Linked DNA regions of Homo sapiens: region 1 is linked to region 2. The links are contacts of gene promoters, found by promoter capture Hi-C in blood cells and fetal thymus (Javierre and others, 2016). All regions are on one chromosome and are shown on one strand. The core of a region is centred on a gene start or on the middle of the fragment in contact, and the rest is flanking DNA. Distances in the headings are between cores, read along the strand shown. Region 1 holds the start of SRPRB (SRP receptor subunit beta). Region 2 holds the start of NUDT16 (nudix hydrolase 16).

Evidence for each region. The method cuts DNA at HindIII sites, captures the fragments that hold promoters and counts their contacts. A CHiCAGO score of 5 or more calls a contact.
Region 1: a fragment that was not itself captured here is called in contact with the fragment with the promoter of NUDT16 in region 2 in 1 of 17 cell types (total B cells); the score reaches 5.4 in total B cells.

Annotation. Positions count from the first base shown.
Region 1 is chr3:133,805,787-133,808,486 of GRCh38, reverse strand. It overlaps SRPRB (SRP receptor subunit beta), which reads right to left and starts at 2,672. Exons shown (of 7, transcript NM_001379313.1): 1 at 2,485-2,672; 2 at 1,784-1,878; 3 at 664-741. The coding sequence starts at 2,638. RefSeq lists enhancers at 2,111-2,220, 2,251-2,300, 2,411-2,620. The HindIII fragment of the contact is 771 bases long and covers 985-1,755 here.
Region 2 is chr3:131,380,523-131,383,222 of GRCh38, reverse strand. NUDT16 (nudix hydrolase 16) reads right to left here and starts at 1,449. Exons shown (of 3, transcript NM_152395.3): 1 at 1,281-1,449; 2 at 908-1,177; 3 at 1-61. The coding sequence starts at 1,418. It overlaps NUDT16-DT (NUDT16 divergent transcript), which reads left to right and starts at 1,748. Exons shown (of 4, transcript NR_038976.1): 1 at 1,748-1,890. RefSeq lists enhancers at 441-1,009, 1,010-1,579, 1,871-2,140 and a silencer at 1,461-1,760. The HindIII fragment of the contact is 2,474 bases long and covers 858-2,700 here.

The DNA of each region.
Region 1 (2,700 bases), core at 121-2,620, 2.4 Mb before region 2:
AGTAAGAATTTAATTTTATGGTATAGCAACAGAGTGGAGTACTATGCAGCTCATAAACCAACCAGATGGTACTATGTATACAAATGTAGGACAATAAGAAAAGCCCAAGTTGTATCAGCCGTATGAGAAAAATAATGGGCAGAACAGCATTTAAAAAAAAACAACAATAAAGGATATACAGACATGTTTGTATATGCACAGAACATCCGGAAGACTACATACAAAAAAAAGTAAGTCACTGCTTCTGAGGAGAAAACTAGGTAGTGGGGAAAGGAAAGGAAAAATTACTTTTCACCAAATATCTTTTCTAACCTTTTGAATTTTTGTCCCATGTGCATGTATTACCTATTCAAAACTTAAAAGGTTTAATGCCCACTCTTAAGAACTCATTGTAAAGTTGGAAAGAAGACACAGAAACAAAAAATAAGAATAAAATGTGATATAACATTACTGTACATTAAGGTACAACAATGCAGAGGAGGGCATGATTAAATCTACTGTACAGATTGTCAAGAGAATTTGTCACAAAGAATATGTTTCTCCATAAAAATAAGCTACAAATGGTACTTACATCCTCAGATGAACTCATCCTAAAAATGTCCTTAACTGACACACCACAGTAAAGTAAGACTGTCAGACTCCAAAACTCCACAAACATCTTACCCTGTTATTGTTGACTCTGTATACAGCACAGCTGTCAGTAATGGACGTCTGAGTGTCTCTATAAAGGCCTGTTAACAACTGTAAAAAAAACAAGATGGGTGATATTCAACATTTTAATAGCACACCTAAATTGAGTTATATTATTCTAAGTCTCCCAGGTGTAAGGTTAAGTAAATGAATGCTGCTTCCGACAGGTGAAAAAGACGATATTGATTTTTTTTACCTGTAGAAAAAAATCTAATTAATTGCATATTTTACTCCTCAGTGGAATAAAAACAACATTATTCTCAAAAGACAGTTAGTGGCCAAATTTGCCAAGCTTCTGTAAAGATTTTTAACCAACAAAAATGATTTGAAGCCTGGGCAACATGGCAAAATCTCATCTCTACAAAAAATATAAAAAATCAGCCGGGCGTAGTGTTGCACGCCTGTAGTCCCAGCTACTCGGAGGCTGAGGTGGGAGAATCATCTGAGTCCCAGAGGTCAAGGCTGCAATGAGCAGAGATCTCGCCACTGCACTCCAGCCTGGGCATTGGAGTGAGACACTCCCTCAAAAAAAAAAAAAAAAAAAAAATGGAGGTATTTCTTTAATGGAAGGGAAATAATTTATACTCTCAAAAAGAAGAGTTAAAAAGCAGAAAACCTCTCCTATTCACCACATTAAAATACACTGTTAAAAATACTAAATGTATTAAAAATAAATATTAGTAAAAAGAAGCCTAACTAGCCCACTATGTCAAAGAAGGATCACCCTGTGAAAAAGTGTCTTCGATAAACTGTCCTAAGAATTTGTTAACGAAGGAATTATAAACTGTAGGACACTAGCTTCTATGCCTTCTGCTATTCTGGAATGAAACTAATTAAATAAAATCCTTGAATGTGATAAAGACTAAATATCAGCATCTGGCAAGGGCAAACAGAAAAAAAAAAGGAGAAATGACCAATATTTCTCAATTATGGGTTTCTACGAGTCTTTTTGTTCTCCCAAGTAAGTCAAGAATTAACTTCCAAATTTAACAGCATCAGCTTCTTTTACAAAATAAACCGTGAGATGACAGGAATACTGGGATCTATAAAATTTTCTATTAAGCTTAACAGGGGTGTCAATGAAATCATTTACCCTGACAAAGAGCAACGTTTTCCCGGAATCACAAAGGCCAACAAGAAGAACAGCTCTCTGACTGCTCCTTCTGCTCCGGATTAACTTCCAGAAGACTGTGGAATAGACAGAGAAAAACAACAAAAATTACGCCTTGGGAATCAGTATATGTGCATGGCTGGGGTGGGGAAATTCACAGAAGTCTGTGACGAAACACCTCATTCACCTGGAACTGACTTTTATCATAATGGTTACTATTGCTGTTGTTAGGGATCCACTGAGAGCCAGGCACTGTCAACTGTCAACTTTTCTTTGCAGTCCTTACTCTGACTGGGACTCAGGTGCTATCTCACTACCTTGGTATCCCAGCGCCCGCACGCAAACACGGGAGGCTGAAAGTTGGTGTCAAGACCCTGAGTCTTTGCAGTGAGAACAGCGGAAGGCGAGGAACAGCGCGCTCAAGCGTAACAGGGCAGATGACGAAGAGCAATCTGCGCCCCAAGGACCAGGACGTTAACTCCGGGGGTTGCCCGGCATCCCCCTTAACGCCCAGCTGCTGCCGCTGCTTCAGGAGAGAGGGTGGGGTGTAGACTGGGTGGGTCTCACCCTCCTGATGCCCTCAAGGCGCCCTCTCAGCCCCGCGTCCCCGGCCTGCAGCGGTGCAGCCAAAGCCCGGACCTCTGCCCGCCCCAAACCCGCCATGACCACCGGCCGCCTTTTACCTAGCGTCAGCAGCACCGCAAGAACCGCCACCACTACTGACAACAGCGTTGGGTCCGTCTGCTGCAGCTCCTGCCGCAAGGTGTCTAGGTAGGGCTGGAAGGTGCCCCCGGCACCGCCGCCATCTGCCACCCGGCGCGAGTCCGCGGAAGCCATGGATGAGACGCGTGGTCCCCGGTACAGCAAAAGCGACGTGGCCCTGCACTCTGCGCAGGCGC
Region 2 (2,700 bases), core at 200-2,699:
TAGGCAGGCCTCCTACACCATCCCGCAGGGTATACAGGGGCACTCGCACCAGGCCCAGCACCTGTAAAAGGAAGGAGACAGGAGACACTAGGGCCCCAGGTGGCTCATTCCCTTAACTCCATCCTTTCTCCAGCAGATCAGGCCTCACCCCTTAATACTCCAGCAGAACCAGGCCCAAGGCTCACACCTCACTAAAGCCTAGTGGCCCAACCTTCTGCAGGAAAATGACCCAAAACATATTATCTAGCTCTATCAATTAATCTTTCCCACATCTGCTTCTAAACCTCTAGTGGCTACTGCCTCAAAGATGTATTCATACCCTTTCACCAGTGGTTGTCAAAATGTGGTCCTCAGATTATTTGCATCAGCATTATTTGGGAACTTTTGAAAACTACAAATTCTCAGGTTTCCTCTCCCCCCGCCCCACCACCAATGCAGGAATGCTGAGAGAAATCGCTATTTTAATAAGACGCCCCGATGATTCTGCTACCTGCCAAATTTTGAGAACCACCTTCATACATAATCTATCTACTAGCCCTGCCTGAAATATCAGGGCCACATCTCCTACACAAGAAAAGCAAACCCCAAGAATAAAACCTAGGTTGCCACACCTAGATAATGTGATAATCTATCACACTGTCAATAGGGAACAGCAGAGAGACATGGATGAGTGTGTTCTAGAAAGGATCTCTCCTGGTAAAGGGTGGGAAAGACCTTTACAGAAAGCCCAGGTTGGCAGTACTAATTCAGAGTATAGATGATCACGATCCCAACTCCACCAAGAAAGCTGGGGAGAGGGCAAGGTCAGAGGGGCAAAGACTTTTCTCCAGGGATGCTTTCTTGGGGGAGAGAAAGCTTTGGGAGAAGAGGAAATTGGGAAAGGGACAGAGTCCCAGGCTGGTCCCACCTCCAGCCCGTGGTCCTTGGCGCGTGTTGCGCCGGCCTCCACAGCCAACAGCTCCTCGAGCGTCAGACGCTTGGCATAGAAGTGGGCCACAACGCGTGGCCCTGACCCGACGTGGGAGCTGCGGTAGTCAGTGCGCTCCACGCGGAAAGCGGCAGCCGCTTCGCCCAGCTCCTCGCGCAGCTCGCGGTTCAGCCCGTCCTCTAGGCTTCTGTCCTGCGTGTCCACGAATCCGCCGGGGAAGCCCAGGCGTCCATCGAAGCGCATCTGCATCTGCGGGAGGGGGAAGCGGGGATTGGCAGGGGCGCCCCAGAGGAGACCACCAGAGAGGGTGCGGGGCTCAGGCAGAAAGTGGCCGGGCGCGCCCCCTTCTCACCAGTATGGCGTAGCGCAGCGGGATGCGGCCGAAGAGCATCCCAGGGTCCGGCGCGTAGAGGAGAGCGTGGCACGCATGACGCCAGCCCGACCCCAGCGCCAGGGCCTCGCCTAGCTCCAGCCTGCGGGCTCCGGCCATGGCCGGACACTGCTCCTCTGCTGTCCCGAAGGCCCAATGGGCAGAGGGGCGGGTCTCACCTCGGACCAATCCGAGCCTGGGCGGTGCTGCAAGGCCCAATCCCTGCAGGGATAAGGGGAGGAACCTAGGCGCCTGGGGGCGGGGCGCCGCGACCGGTGCGGGAGGCAGCTAATCAGGGCGGGGCTTGCAGACCGGGTTGAAGTCCAGGGCCCAGGAACCCTAGGGTAACCGAAAGCAGCCTCTGGGTTGGGCCTGCGGTGGGGCGGGGCTAGAGGTGTGGCCGCGCCCTAAACCTGGCGCAAGGCCGGTACCTAAAGGCTCCTGGGAGCCAAAAGAGCAAGTCAGGGAACTAGCTTTGGTTGGGTTCGGTGGTACACAAAGCACAAGGCCTGGGTTGGGGTTAGGAGGAAATGAGACTTGCGGCGGGTCGGGGCTGAAGATGTGGCAGCGCCCTGAACCTGGAGAAAGGCTGGTACGTAAACGCCTGCGTCGCAATCTGGAGTCAGCTGGAGTGTCCCGGCAGGTGAGGAAGAGCTGGGGCGCTCAGTTGAGTGCTGGGAGCCAAAGAAGTAATAACTACCTTTGGTTGGGTGTGGTGGTACACAAAGCACAAGGCCTGGGTGGGGGTTAGGAGGAAATGAGGCAGGGTTGGCCTCAGACACCAAGGCCTATCCTAGGGAAATGGAGATGGACAGGCGCCATGGTCTGACAACTATCTTGAGTGGTGAAATTGAGGGGACTTGGTGACTGAGTGAATGGGGAAGAGGGAGCGCTGGGCTAGTGGTGGTTCCGAGTTTCCTGGATGTGGTGTCATTTTCTGAGAGGGGGAGAGTAGGAGAAGGGTGAGCAGTGATAAGTGTAGTTCTAAGGAATTGGGGTGGCCATAGGCAGTGGGCAGCTGATCGTGGGGGTCTGACGCACAGGGAGTGGCACATAGAGAAGTCACAGGGCAGTGAGATTTTCAGGGGAAGGGTGGGGGTGGAAGGAGCTGTGAGTGAAATCCTGTGGCACAGGACTGGGAGTGAGGAGGGGTGAGAGATAGAAGAAGCCTCCTAGGCTTTCTAGTCTTTCCCTCAAACCCCCTCAGACCTCTGAGCTATGAAGGAGGGTGGGTTACCCTACCACAAGGGCAGAGGCCTACTCAGGGCCTGATGCTGAGATGCAGGATCCCTCACTCCAGGCCAGGCCTTCCCCACCCTGCAGAGCGCCCCTACACCAGGTGTCGATATTGATTATGCAATAGAAAGCAGGAGGCAGCTCCTTGAGGGGGGCTGGGCATAAA